2 separate regions of the Homo sapiens genome follow, and region 2 is linked to region 1. The links are contacts of gene promoters, found by promoter capture Hi-C in blood cells and fetal thymus (Javierre and others, 2016). All regions are on one chromosome and are shown on one strand. Each heading gives the region's core, a stretch centred on a gene start or on the middle of the fragment in contact. The rest is flanking DNA. Distances are from core to core; before and after follow the strand shown.

Region 1 (5,921 bases), core at 2,083-4,582:
CAAAGCTGACTTGTTCATCCTCAGGGAGTTCCACATCCTCCAGAAACTGGCTGAGAGTGGCTCTACCTGCAGAGGTGCCCAATAGAATCATGCTGACCCCCAGAGGGTATAGAGGAGAACTGCAGTGGAGGGACAGTGGTAGGGGGCAGGGAGAAGGGTAGGTTGTGAACGAGAAGTTCTTAGGCAGAGCAAATAAATAGGAGCACAAAGATTTAACTCAGAGCAAGATGTACAGGACTGAATAATGTTTTTTCACAAGAATTTCAGTGAAAAATATCTTTACCAGAGCAACAGCAAAAACTAAAAGCAAATGGTATTCAAAGCTTTGCAAGGGCAAAGTCCCAGGTGGTGAGTGCAGTGTATGGGTGGGGCTGAAAAGAGGAAATGGGGTGGAAGACTGCATTGAGGCAATGGATGGGGACAGAAAGACCTTTTCAGCTGCTCTGCTGAATAGCATTTTCAAACCTTGCAGGGGATTGTAATTCTCAACAGGCCAGAAACTTTTCCCCAGAGCCAAGACTGGGGTTCAGAGGCCAAGTGACTGCCCAGCCTACATAGCAGGTATATAGCAAAGCCATGATTTCAATTTGGTCTTTCTGGCTATATAAGTCCTGCTCTTTCCAGTACATCATGCTGAACTAAGTTCTCTCTTACTCTTTTTAAAAAGAAAAGATCTCAAACTTCTGAAGAACATCTCAGTTTTCTGAGAAACTCTTGCTAAAGGAAAAGAAAGAGAATGAAGTGGCTGTTGCCCTGTTCTCTGAATGGTCGTAGGTGATTCACTTCAGGGAGCCTGCTGTCTTGGCATGATTCCACTAATGGTCAGAAACCTCCTGAATATTGATCGAGGTTTCCTCTAATTTCCATCCAGACAGACAGTGGAGTGATGGGTATCACAGGGTGGGACTCCTGGACCTTATGTGGGACAGAATGAATGCAAGAGACCAGACTTGCTCCTGAGCAAGTTCCAGGTAGGACCCCTGAATGTCTCCCTGGACACTCTTGTTCCATTCAAGGTGACAGCAGGATCTGCTTTTCCCACACTGTTCCTTAGAGCCCAAAGAGCCCCTTCCACTTGGTAGCCAGCATTCAATGGGCAAGGGAACAAGTCTCCCTTTCTTTAGATTTTGTCTTGGCTCATGTGAAGATTCTGTATATAGAATAAAATATTTTTCCCATTGACTTCCTTCACTGAGCACAGATTTAACTCAGAAAGAGTGAAATAAAATTAGCTTTATTTCACTCTTTATGATTAGAACAGTAATACATGCATTTTTAAAAAATCAAAACTAAATACTAAATCTAGAGCACGGGTTGGCAAATTATGGCCTGTGAGCTGGCCAACACTGTTTTGGTAAATAAAATGTTATTGGAACACAGCCATCCTCATTCGTTTACATATGGTCTATGGTTGTTTTCCTGCTACCACAGCAATGGCATTGAGTAGTTACGGCACACACCTGAAAAGCTTAGCCTATTTACTCTCTTGCCTTTTACAGGAAAAGCTTGCTGATTCCTGAGCTAGAGCTAGAGAAGCAATGAGGACACATGTTTATTCTGACCCTGCAGAAGTTTGTAGTTCTGACACATTCCTCTATAAATAGCTGTTTTCAGAGCTGTAAAAACATTCAGCATTCAGCCAGACAATAAAGAGGCATTACAGTCCTATGGGCAGGAAAACAATTCTCTCCAAATTGTTCTTTTCTTCAATCTGCATGTTATTGCCCTTCTTAAAGCCAGGCTTTTAAGGAAGAGGCAAGCATGTGGGGTCTTGAGAAGGCTAGGTGGTACCTGGTCACCCAGACATGCAAGTGGTGTTGGAAACAGGCTGCGTGACCTCAGAACATGTCAGCCTAGAGGGCAGTAATATTAGGACATCTTCACAGGCTTTCCAGAGCCACCTCTATAGAATCCTGGGGTAGTGGGGTGACTGATATGCCAGAGACCAAGAACAACAAAGACAAGGAGGACTCACCTGCCTGTTCAGTGACTGCATCTGTGAGGAGATCAAAAGCCAGAGATTAGCACACAGCATTTGCCCTCATAATTTATAAATTTATATTACTCTGGTAAATTGCTCAAAAACTTCTTTCCATTTTCCCTTTCTTTTCTATTTCCCTAATCTCTTATTACTAACAATTCAATCTCCCTCGAGCACACATCTAACTGTCATTCATTGTAGTCAAAAGGCAAGTTGCAAACCCAATGCTTGACTAAAGGGATTGTCGAGAATACCCATGTTGGATATTTAGTGACTCTCCTTGATTTCATTTTCCTTCCACCATCCCCACCACTCTATCTCACACTCTGACTTTTCAAGTGGTAGATAGACATGACAACACGATCACAAAGGGCTCATCAGGAAACATACATTGTGAGAGTTCCAAGAAATCAACAAATCAGTCTCTTTCCTATGGCCATATTTCACGTTAGAGCCCTTTGTATTCCAATAACAAATATTTATTTAGTGCCTACACAGCATAGAGAAAGGGATCTTATTTACTCTCTCACCCAGGCTGGAGTACAATGGTGCGATCTTGGCTCACCACAACCTCCACCTCCCGGGTTCAAGCAATTCTCCTGCCTCAGCTTCCCGAGTAGCTGGAATTACAGGTGCCCACCACCACGCCTGGCTAATTTTTGTATTTTTAGTAGAGATGAGGTTTCACCATGTTGGCCGGGGTGGTCTCGAACTCTGACCTCAAGTGATCCACCAGCCTTGGACTCCCAAAGTGCTAGGATTACAGGTATGAGCCACTGCACTCACCCAGGAATCTTATTTTCTAGCAGCAGCTGTCATCTCCCTCATTGTCCACGATTAAACAGAGGAATATTAGCAAAGGGTCTCAATGCATCTGCTGAACCCAAATCTTATAGATAACAATTGAATAATCGGTGTTCATGGAGGAGAAGGGCATTGCTAAATGCTAATATTATGAACATTTTACTATGAGAACATTATATTACTCAATGAGATCTAAGATATCAAAATAGCAATTCATGACCAGCAAATGGAAAAGTGGTCCACCTTGAACATTAAGCATTGTGCTTAATGCTTAATGGATGTGCTGCAAATTCACTGTCCTCAGCCTACTTCTTTGCATCTGCCTTTGAAGCCCAAGCTGCAGGCAGGACCTGAGCATCCCCACCAGTCCCTGGGCTCCAATAAAACCTCCAACCTTTTGGGAGCAGTAGACCTCATTCAGCTGCCACCTCACTTCTCAGTCAAATTATTGAACTCACCAAAGATGACCAGCAATGACCACAGCAGCATGAGGACCTAATCCAGCTATTTGAAAAGAGATGTACTCTTGGTCACCAACTGGAGACTCTGAGCAGGCGATGAAATGTGGTTTTCAGAATAGGTTTTGTATAATTAGCAAAAAAGGAAGTAGAATAGTGCCACTATGTTTAACCATTATCTTTGTCCTGGAAGGGCTAAAACAATTATAGCTGATCCTCTCAATGCCAGAGAAATTTTGTAACTTGACCCTCATTATGATACCTAGCATTTACATATGGGTTGCAATGAGTCAGACACAGTTCTAAGTGCCTCATGCTTACAGAGTTATTTATTACCTTCAGCAAGTTTCTGAATTGGCACTATCCCCTTTCACATGAATAAGGAAATTGAGGCACTAGTAAAGGTAAGTGTCTTAGTCCATTGGGGCTGCTATAAAGAATACCTTAGACTGAGAAATTTATAAACAACATAAATTTATCACTCATAGTTCAAGAGGCTGGGAAGTTTAAGATCAAGGCACCAGTAGATTCAGTGTCTGATGAGGGCCTGTTTCTCATAGATGGTGTCCTCTATGTGTCTTCACATGATGGAAGGAGCAAACAAGCTCCCTCAAGCCTCTTTTACAAGGAGACTAATCCTTTTCATAAGAGTTCCACACTCATGACCCCTAAAAGGTCATGTAATAAAAGGTGGGTACCTTTTATTACTATTGCATTGAGGATTAAGTATCAACATAAGAATTTTGCCAGGACACAAACATTCAGATGATAGCAGCCAGTAAAATGACCAAGATCAGCTTAATCAATTTCTAGTAGTAACAGATCTGGGATTCAAACCCAGGCAGCCCAGTGTCACAGTCTGGCTCTTAAACATTGTGCCCTATTATCTTGATATATTGCTTCTCAAGGTTCATAAAATAATAAGGCCATTGTTTCAATAGCTCATATTTCTTAAGTAAAATTTTTCGTAGTCATTCGATGACTTTCTAGAATGAGATTTTACTAAACTTCAAAACACTTGCACTATATTGCTGAAAACATTGCCATCTTTCTAATCTGTAATCACAACATTGCCTATTTCTAATCTGCATTGCTTTTTGTACCCCAGGCTGATCCTAATACAGTTATCTCACACAAAGCAAAGCGCGTGTTATGTGAACACCTATTATCATGCTCACTTTGATTAGATGTAGTCCCAGTAGATGTTGTCTCATCAGTGAACCTTATGCAGGATGAAACTCTAAACCAAAAAATCACAGGTGCTTATAAATGAGGGACTGACTGAAAATATTCATAGACTCAATGTTACCTGTTCAGGTACTTAACATTTACCTGAATACTTAACATTGAATTTTTAACAATTGGATACTTAACATTTTATTCTCACTATTATCATAGTTTTACTTTGAGAAAGGCTAATATTTATATGTGATGGTCATTAAAGCCTTGCTTATAATAATGTAAAAAGAAAATACTAAAAATATATCACAAGGAGAGATGTGTGTTAAAAATAAGTTATGTGTCAAATGCTGTGGAAAACCAAACAGCCATTAAAATAATTCTGTGGAATAATATTTAATAGCAAGATAAGATGTCTAGGATATATGATTAAGAAAAAAGTGGGCTGGGTGCGGTGGCTCACGCCTGTAATCTCAGCACTTTGGGAGGCTGAGGCGGGCGGATCACGAGGTCAGGAGATCAAGACCATCCTGGCTAACACGGTGAAACCCCATCTCAACTAAAAATACAAAAAATTAGCCGGGCGTGGTGGCAGGTGCCTGTAGTCCCAGCTGTTTGGGAGGCTGAGGCAGGAGAATGGTACAAACCCGGGAGGCAGAGCTTGCAGTGAGCCGAGATCGTGCCACTGCACTCCAGCTTGGGTGACAGAGCAAGACTCCGTCTCAAAAAAAAAAAAGAAAAGAAAAGAAAAGAAAAAAGTGGCTGCAGAGTGCACTTTATCTGCTGCACATTATCCCCTGCTCTCCAATAAAAAGTGTCTGAGACAATTCGCACCACAGAGTTACTGTAATTATATCCAAAAAATCTAATTAAAGCTGATTTTTATTTTCCTTATTTTGCTTATCTGTGTATTCTAGTATTCTTACAATAAACATATGCTATTTACGTACTTTTTAAAGATTCATTATAAGAAACTAGGTTTTATGGCCTCTCTCATCTTAAAGTGTTGAAAACAATACTACTTTAACTTTCTGCATAGGCAAACGGTTTGTATGTGTTTGAAAGTGTAAGTTACTCTTTCCCAGGACCAAAGCTAGTCACTGATCATCAAATCTTGCCTACTGAATGGGTTTCTAGGTGGCCTATAATTCCTTCCCATTCTGACCAACCTGGAAGCTATAGAAATTTTGTGGATGGGAGGGAATTAAGGAAAGGAGTACAAATAGGATCATGAAAAAGTTGATGGTAAATTGATGGTAGGTACAAGTTTTTCATAGACATCAAGGAGATTTTTCAAAATAATCCATATCCCTTCACTGATTTCTATATACCCTCTATGGAAATGTGGCCTCTTCAGTTAAGAATCAATATTTCTTAAGGTGTTACCAAATGATATGAGGTAAAATTCACAGTTGGTATAAAAGGTGCAGGTGGAAAGCAGCAGTAATGAGGTGTGTGGGCCACAGAGGTGGCAACAAATCCTCTAAGATGGCTAACAT
Region 2 (5,921 bases), core at 2,261-4,760, 1.3 Mb after region 1:
ATTCAATAAAGGGAAAGGTCCTAAACAGATAAACAATCTGTTTCTTATTGGATAAATAAGCAGTTAAAGCACACACACAAACACACTAGAGAGATATTTACCAACATCAATGTATTTTTTTCCTAGACGATACAATTATAGATAATTTTATTCTCTTCTCTGTGTTTTTTATTTTTCTGAATTAACAGAGATAAGACACCTCTTTTTGGTTTGTTTTGGGAGAAAATACTACTTTTTAAAAGCCACTTGCCATTTAGAACCAAAGGGAAATACAGGGCAAAACAAACAGAGGCATAAAAAGCCAAGCGTAGGAGTCTCTGAAGGGTGTCTCTGATGTGACCTGGAGCTTGGGGCAGTGGAGCTTGGGCCAGTAAGGGGCCCTGATGGGCAGCATAACTGACTGCATTTGGATCAATGCAGGGAAAGGTCAGCTCCACTGAGGTCCACTACAGAAGTCCTTCTCTTTGGTCCATGTATCTTTATTTGGGTCTTCCAGACTGAAAAATGCATATTTTCATTACTGATGAGGGAATCACACCATTTATACTTGAACCTTGTTTTCCTGAAAAATCCAGAAGTTTCTGGGCCAAACCCAGAGGAAATGGTTCCTCTAGACAAAGAGAATGAAGTATATATCATCAGTTTTTAGAGCTCACACAGGTATAAAATAATGTAATACCTGCTTCATAGGAAATGAAACTGCATGTGTGGTGGATTCTGTGCTGGGCCTTTCTAACGTTGTCTGCCACTCCCTCAGGACTAAAGTAATCATTCTCACCAATGACACTCTCCAGCCACTACTCTCTCAGCTAAATGGGGCCACCTCACCTTGTCCATGCAGGTGTATAAAGGGCTTTTTTACATTACTTTTAAAAAAGCAATTTGCTGTCAAGAACCAAGCAGAAAACAAACAGAGGCATGCCAGACCGAGTGTCAGAGTCTCTGAATTGGATCTCTGATGTGACCCAGAGCCTGGGCCTGTACAAACCACAGACTCCCTCACAAATCTTGGGAGCCCTGAAAGACATTCTCAGCTCCCGAGCTCCCTGTAGGGTAGGCCAAGGCCTCTATTGCAACTACATTGGACTTGACATTCTTCCTCTTCTTCTCCTTTCACTTCCTCACAGATATTAATTCTGAAAGTGCTCTAAAATAGACTTCCTGTAAACAACGGTCTATCTCAGAGTTTTCTTCTTATAGAATCCAAAACATAACAAAGTGTTAATGTGTCCAGAACCTGGCAGAGATTAGAAGCTCAACAGGTGTTTAATCTGATGAATCAAAGGTAGTTCCTGTTTTTGTGACTCAGAATGCTTTTCATGCTGTGGCCTTGCTTCCCTTATTTGCATGCTGTGAGATAAAGAACAGAGAACAATATGGGAAGTGACAGTGACAGTGATGCTCTTACAAGGACAAAGACCACTCCACTCTCCTTATCCTACCTTAACATGAGGAGAGACTTTTGGTGCAGCACGTTGCTTTGCGACATCATTTCTGATGGCTGCAGATGCAGCAGGACTCATTTCAGCTTGACTTAGTGGCTTTGGTTTTGTTACCGATTTGTATTGCTTATCAACTGATTAAAAAATGAAAGACATGGCCAATAAGCATATAAACATATGAGCAGTGCACATTTTCAAATGTCACCAGGAATAAATACTAAAACCATATTAAGATATCTTCAAGAACAGCTAATTTTTCTTAAAAAAAAATCATATTTTAAAATGAAAGAAACTGGACCTGGCACAGACACCAGTAATCCCAGCACTTTGGGAGGCCAAGGCTGGAGGATCACTTGAGGCCAGGGGTTTGAGACCAGCTTAGTCAACATAGGGAGACCCTATCTTTACAAAAAATATTTTCAAAATTAGCCAGGTATAATGGCACATGTTTTTAGTCCCAGCTACTTGGGAGGCTGAGGCAAGGATAACTTAAGCCCAGGAGTTCAAAGCTGCAGTGAGTCATGATTGCACCACTGCACTCCAGCTTGGATGACACAGTGAGACCCTGTCTGTCTCAAAAAAAAAAAAAAGACAAGAAACAAAAACTATGAAGTAGTAGTCGTCTTAAATTGGTATAACACTTTGGAAAATGGTTTGGGACGCTATTTATTAAAATTCAATATCTACTTACCTTAACATCCAGTAATACCATTCACAGGTGTACAGTCAAGAGAAACACACATACAAATACAAACATACAAAGATAAGTATATAAGGCTTATAATGTACATAAATATTCATAGCAGCATTATTCATAATGGCCTCCAATGACTAAAATAACAATAAAAATACACCAATTCTCTCTCTCTATATATATGTATATCAGTTTATGTGTATATGTAATTATCAATTAAATGGAATCTTATGTAGTAGTGAAAATGAATAAACTGCTGCTATGAAACAAGGGCTGATTTCTTTCTTTTTTTTTTTTTTGAGACGGAGTCTCACTCCGTCACCCAAGCTGGAGTGCAGTGGCGCAATCTTGGCTCACTGCAACCTCTGCCTCCTGGGTTCAAGTGATTCTCCTGCCTCAGCCTCCTGAGTAGCTGGGATTACAGGCTCATGCCACCACGCCTGACTAATTTTTGTATTTTTTTAGTAAAGATGGGGTTTCACCATGTTGTTAAGGCTGGTCTTGAGCTCCTCACCTCGTGATGCGCCCACCTCAGCCTCCCAAAGTGTTGGGATTACAGGCGTGAGCCACCGCGCCTGGCCACAGATTTCTAATTATGTTCTACAAGGCCTTGCATTTTCCTTCTGTCGAGGGGACCCCATCCTGCCCTCTGAAGATTCTCTGTACTGCAGCCATACTGGCCTTCTTTCAGTCCTCAAGCAAGTCAACACCTGCTGTCAGAGGGATTTTCACACAGTGTTCCCTCTGACTGAAGGTACCTTTAACTCCTATGCATTTTTCACAGCTTAGTGCAAGTCACTTCCCCATGGAACCCGCTTTGACCAACACCAACTCTAACTCCTGGCTTATGTTAATGCTCCTTTGACACATGCTGCTGAAGAACCATCTTCCTTTCCATCAGAACATTTGTCTCAGTTAGTTACCTGTCTCAGTTAATTTGCCTGTAAGAAAAATATCTACTTTCCCTTTAGAGTATAAACTGTACAAAATTTGGATTTGTTTTTAAAACCTTGTTTTATCATAAGAACCTAAAAGCTTTCCTTGTACCTATTAGCAATTCAATGGATATTTACTGAATGGATGAAGAAATGGATGGATGGGTGGCATGTTGGCTCCTCACTAATGCCTACAAAATGCAGTCGTATACTCTGGCTGGGCTCCTCCACGTCTATGGTCAGGTTATATGTTATCGTGAAAAGCCAACTCCTACTCCTGATTTTTAAAAAGACCATGTAACAAGATGGCCATGTTTGATGACTTAAGGCACTCTCAGGCAGAAGAGGGCCTGGGAAATTATTAGATGTTATTTCTGATAGAATTTGAACAATTCTGGACTGAAATAGCAAGGCAATCACTGATTTTACTAAAAAGAGAAACGATTTAATTATTAGAGCTAAGAGTAGAATGAACTGTCTTATGAGGTAGTAGGTACTCTGTCATTACCTTTCAAAGATCAGAAAGTGGTTGACTGTCTGACAGGGATATTGTAGCAGGATCTCTGCACTAGGAAGAAGTTAAACTAACCTTCCAATGGTAAGTTAGTTCCATGAAATTGGTTTCAGAAAGGTATGCAGATAAAGTCTCTCTTCTATGTTCACAGCATCGGAGAGAAAACAGCATCAAGGGAGGCGGAAGGAATCAACCTACCATTCTACCACATCACATCAGCCATATTTCATTTCACACACTGTGGTACCAATGCAATATTTGTGGACAAGCTTGTCTGCCAATTATAAATCTCTCATTTGCCTTAATAATCAGGTGCACATTGTTACTGATTATTTCATTTATCATTTTCAGCATTTTATTTTAATCTTGCAGGACTTTTGTGGACTTTGATCACATTTTCTCTTAGCTTCCTTTTTCTACGCTTATGTGTCCTTATATTTTCTCATCTTGCTTCATACAAAAGCTTCTCCTGTCTACTAATTATTGCCTCTGTCTTCATTAAAGATTCTCCAGGTATCTTCTACCTTCCATGAGGTGAGGTCATGAGTAGAATAGCATATAGCACTCTACATGCAGACATGCAATGGCAATGGAGAAGGATCACTTAACCAAGAATGACAGATTAACTGTTCAAAAAATAAAACAAAAACTGTTTTCCTAAAATAATAGAAATAGCATGGACACACAAAAATTTCCTACATTCAAAAGCGGCCTAAGTATGTCCGTGGATAGAATTTTAGAGCTATGAAGGAACTTAACTGCCTTCTTGTATAGCATGCAAGAAGCATACTTTGTGTTTTGTTGTTGTTGTTGTTTGAGACAGGGTCTCACTGTTGTTGCCCAGGCAGGAGTGCAGAGGTGTGATCTCAGCTCACTGCAACCTCTCCCTCCCAGGTTCAAGTGATTCTCGTGCCTCAGCCTCCCAAGTAGCTGGCATTACAGATGCCCGCCACCATGCCTGGCTAATTTTTGTATTTTTAGTAGAGACAAAGTTTCACTATGTTGGCCAGGCTGATCTCGAACTCCTGAACTCAAGTGATCCACCCGCCTTGGCCTCCCAAAGTGCTGGGATTAAAGGCGTGAGCCACTGCGCCTGGCCCAAAAGCATACTTTGAATCCTACAACTGTTACATTTGGAGACTCTCATTTGGGAGAGTCCTTGGATAATCTACTCCTGAGTTTCCAAGCTAGTCCCAAACTGGATCTTTTTTAGCTAAGCAGAATAACAAAATCCCAGAATCATTAGAATAGCAAAATGGGGAGAAGATTGTAGAAGGGGAAATTTTGTTCTATCCTGGTCAAAGAGAAGAATTAATTCTTGATTTATTACCAAAATAAAAGATATTTCTAAATATCTCAGCCTATGTTTGCCAATATGCCTAGATTCCTGGCTCATCCCAGATAAGAAAAACACAGGGCAATGTTTTGGTTGGTTACTTGGAAGTAACATGTGTAGTTACTGCCATCTAAGGGCCATCTCTAAGAACTACACCTTCTAACTTAAAGCCTGGGAAAACCACCACTCCTTTCTCTTTAGTGCCTTAGAAACTACCTAACAGTTTATATCTGTATAGAATTATGAATGTACATAGTATCACTTATGTGGCTTCATTTAGCCTTCCTATAACTCATGTGTGAGAAGCCATGTCACCCTTGTTGTACACCCACAAATGCTACTAAAAGCTATTATAATTTTTGCTGCTACTGTTGTACTTTGAATCCTAAAACTGTTGCATTTGGAGACTTTCATTTTGGAGAGTCCTTGAGTGATATGCTCCTCTGTTAGCTCCTTTTTGTTCTTCAGACATAAAGCTGGGACATATCAATTGTTCTTAGTAAACAAAATCAGGAATTTAAACTAAATGTAGATAATTCAGATGGAGATGAGTGATTTATTGAATAATGTAAAAAAAATCTTTGTGTTGTGGGTAATTTATACTGTCACCTGTACTGGAGATAGAGAGGAAAGAAAATCCCTGAAGGTGGATTCTCCCTCCCTTCTGAAGAAGGAGGAGATCATCGCCTAAAGAAGGATAGTCTGGGACCACAGAAAGCTGGGGACAAGGAGAGGAATAGACAGACTGTGTGAAGGAAAAAAGGTGCTCAATATCCTGGTTTACAGTTTTCCAATGCAATAATTTATACTTTCAAGACTTCAGTAGAATGTGACAGCATTACATACTGTGTAAATGGAGTTGGGAGAAGTTAACTTTGAAATTCTACGTCCATATTCACTGCAACTGAACTGGAGACAAAGATGGGCAAGGAGAAAAGATGTTAAATGGAAGTGGTAACCCTAAGGCTGGAAGAAGAGATGCAAACAAAGGCTGGAATGG

The links. The method cuts DNA at HindIII sites, captures the fragments that hold promoters and counts their contacts. A CHiCAGO score of 5 or more calls a contact.
Region 2: a contact is called between a fragment that was not itself captured here and the fragment with the promoter of FCRL2 in region 1, in 1 of 17 cell types (naive B cells). The highest score is 5.7, in naive B cells.

Annotation. Positions count from the first base shown.
Region 1 is chr1:157,773,800-157,779,720 of GRCh38, forward strand. It overlaps FCRL2 (Fc receptor like 2), which reads right to left and starts at 3,333. Exons shown (of 12, transcript NM_030764.4): 1 at 3,244-3,333; 2 at 1,976-1,996. The coding sequence starts at 3,274. The HindIII fragment of the contact is 5,936 bases long and covers 1,504-5,921 here.
Region 2 is chr1:159,067,126-159,073,046 of GRCh38, forward strand. It overlaps AIM2 (absent in melanoma 2), which reads right to left. Exons shown (of 6, transcript NM_004833.3): 3 at 1,443-1,576. Among named protein-coding and RNA genes, the nearest start is that of AIM2, 6.7 kb to the right of the region's middle. RefSeq lists an enhancer at 801-1,190. The HindIII fragment of the contact is 683 bases long and covers 3,170-3,852 here.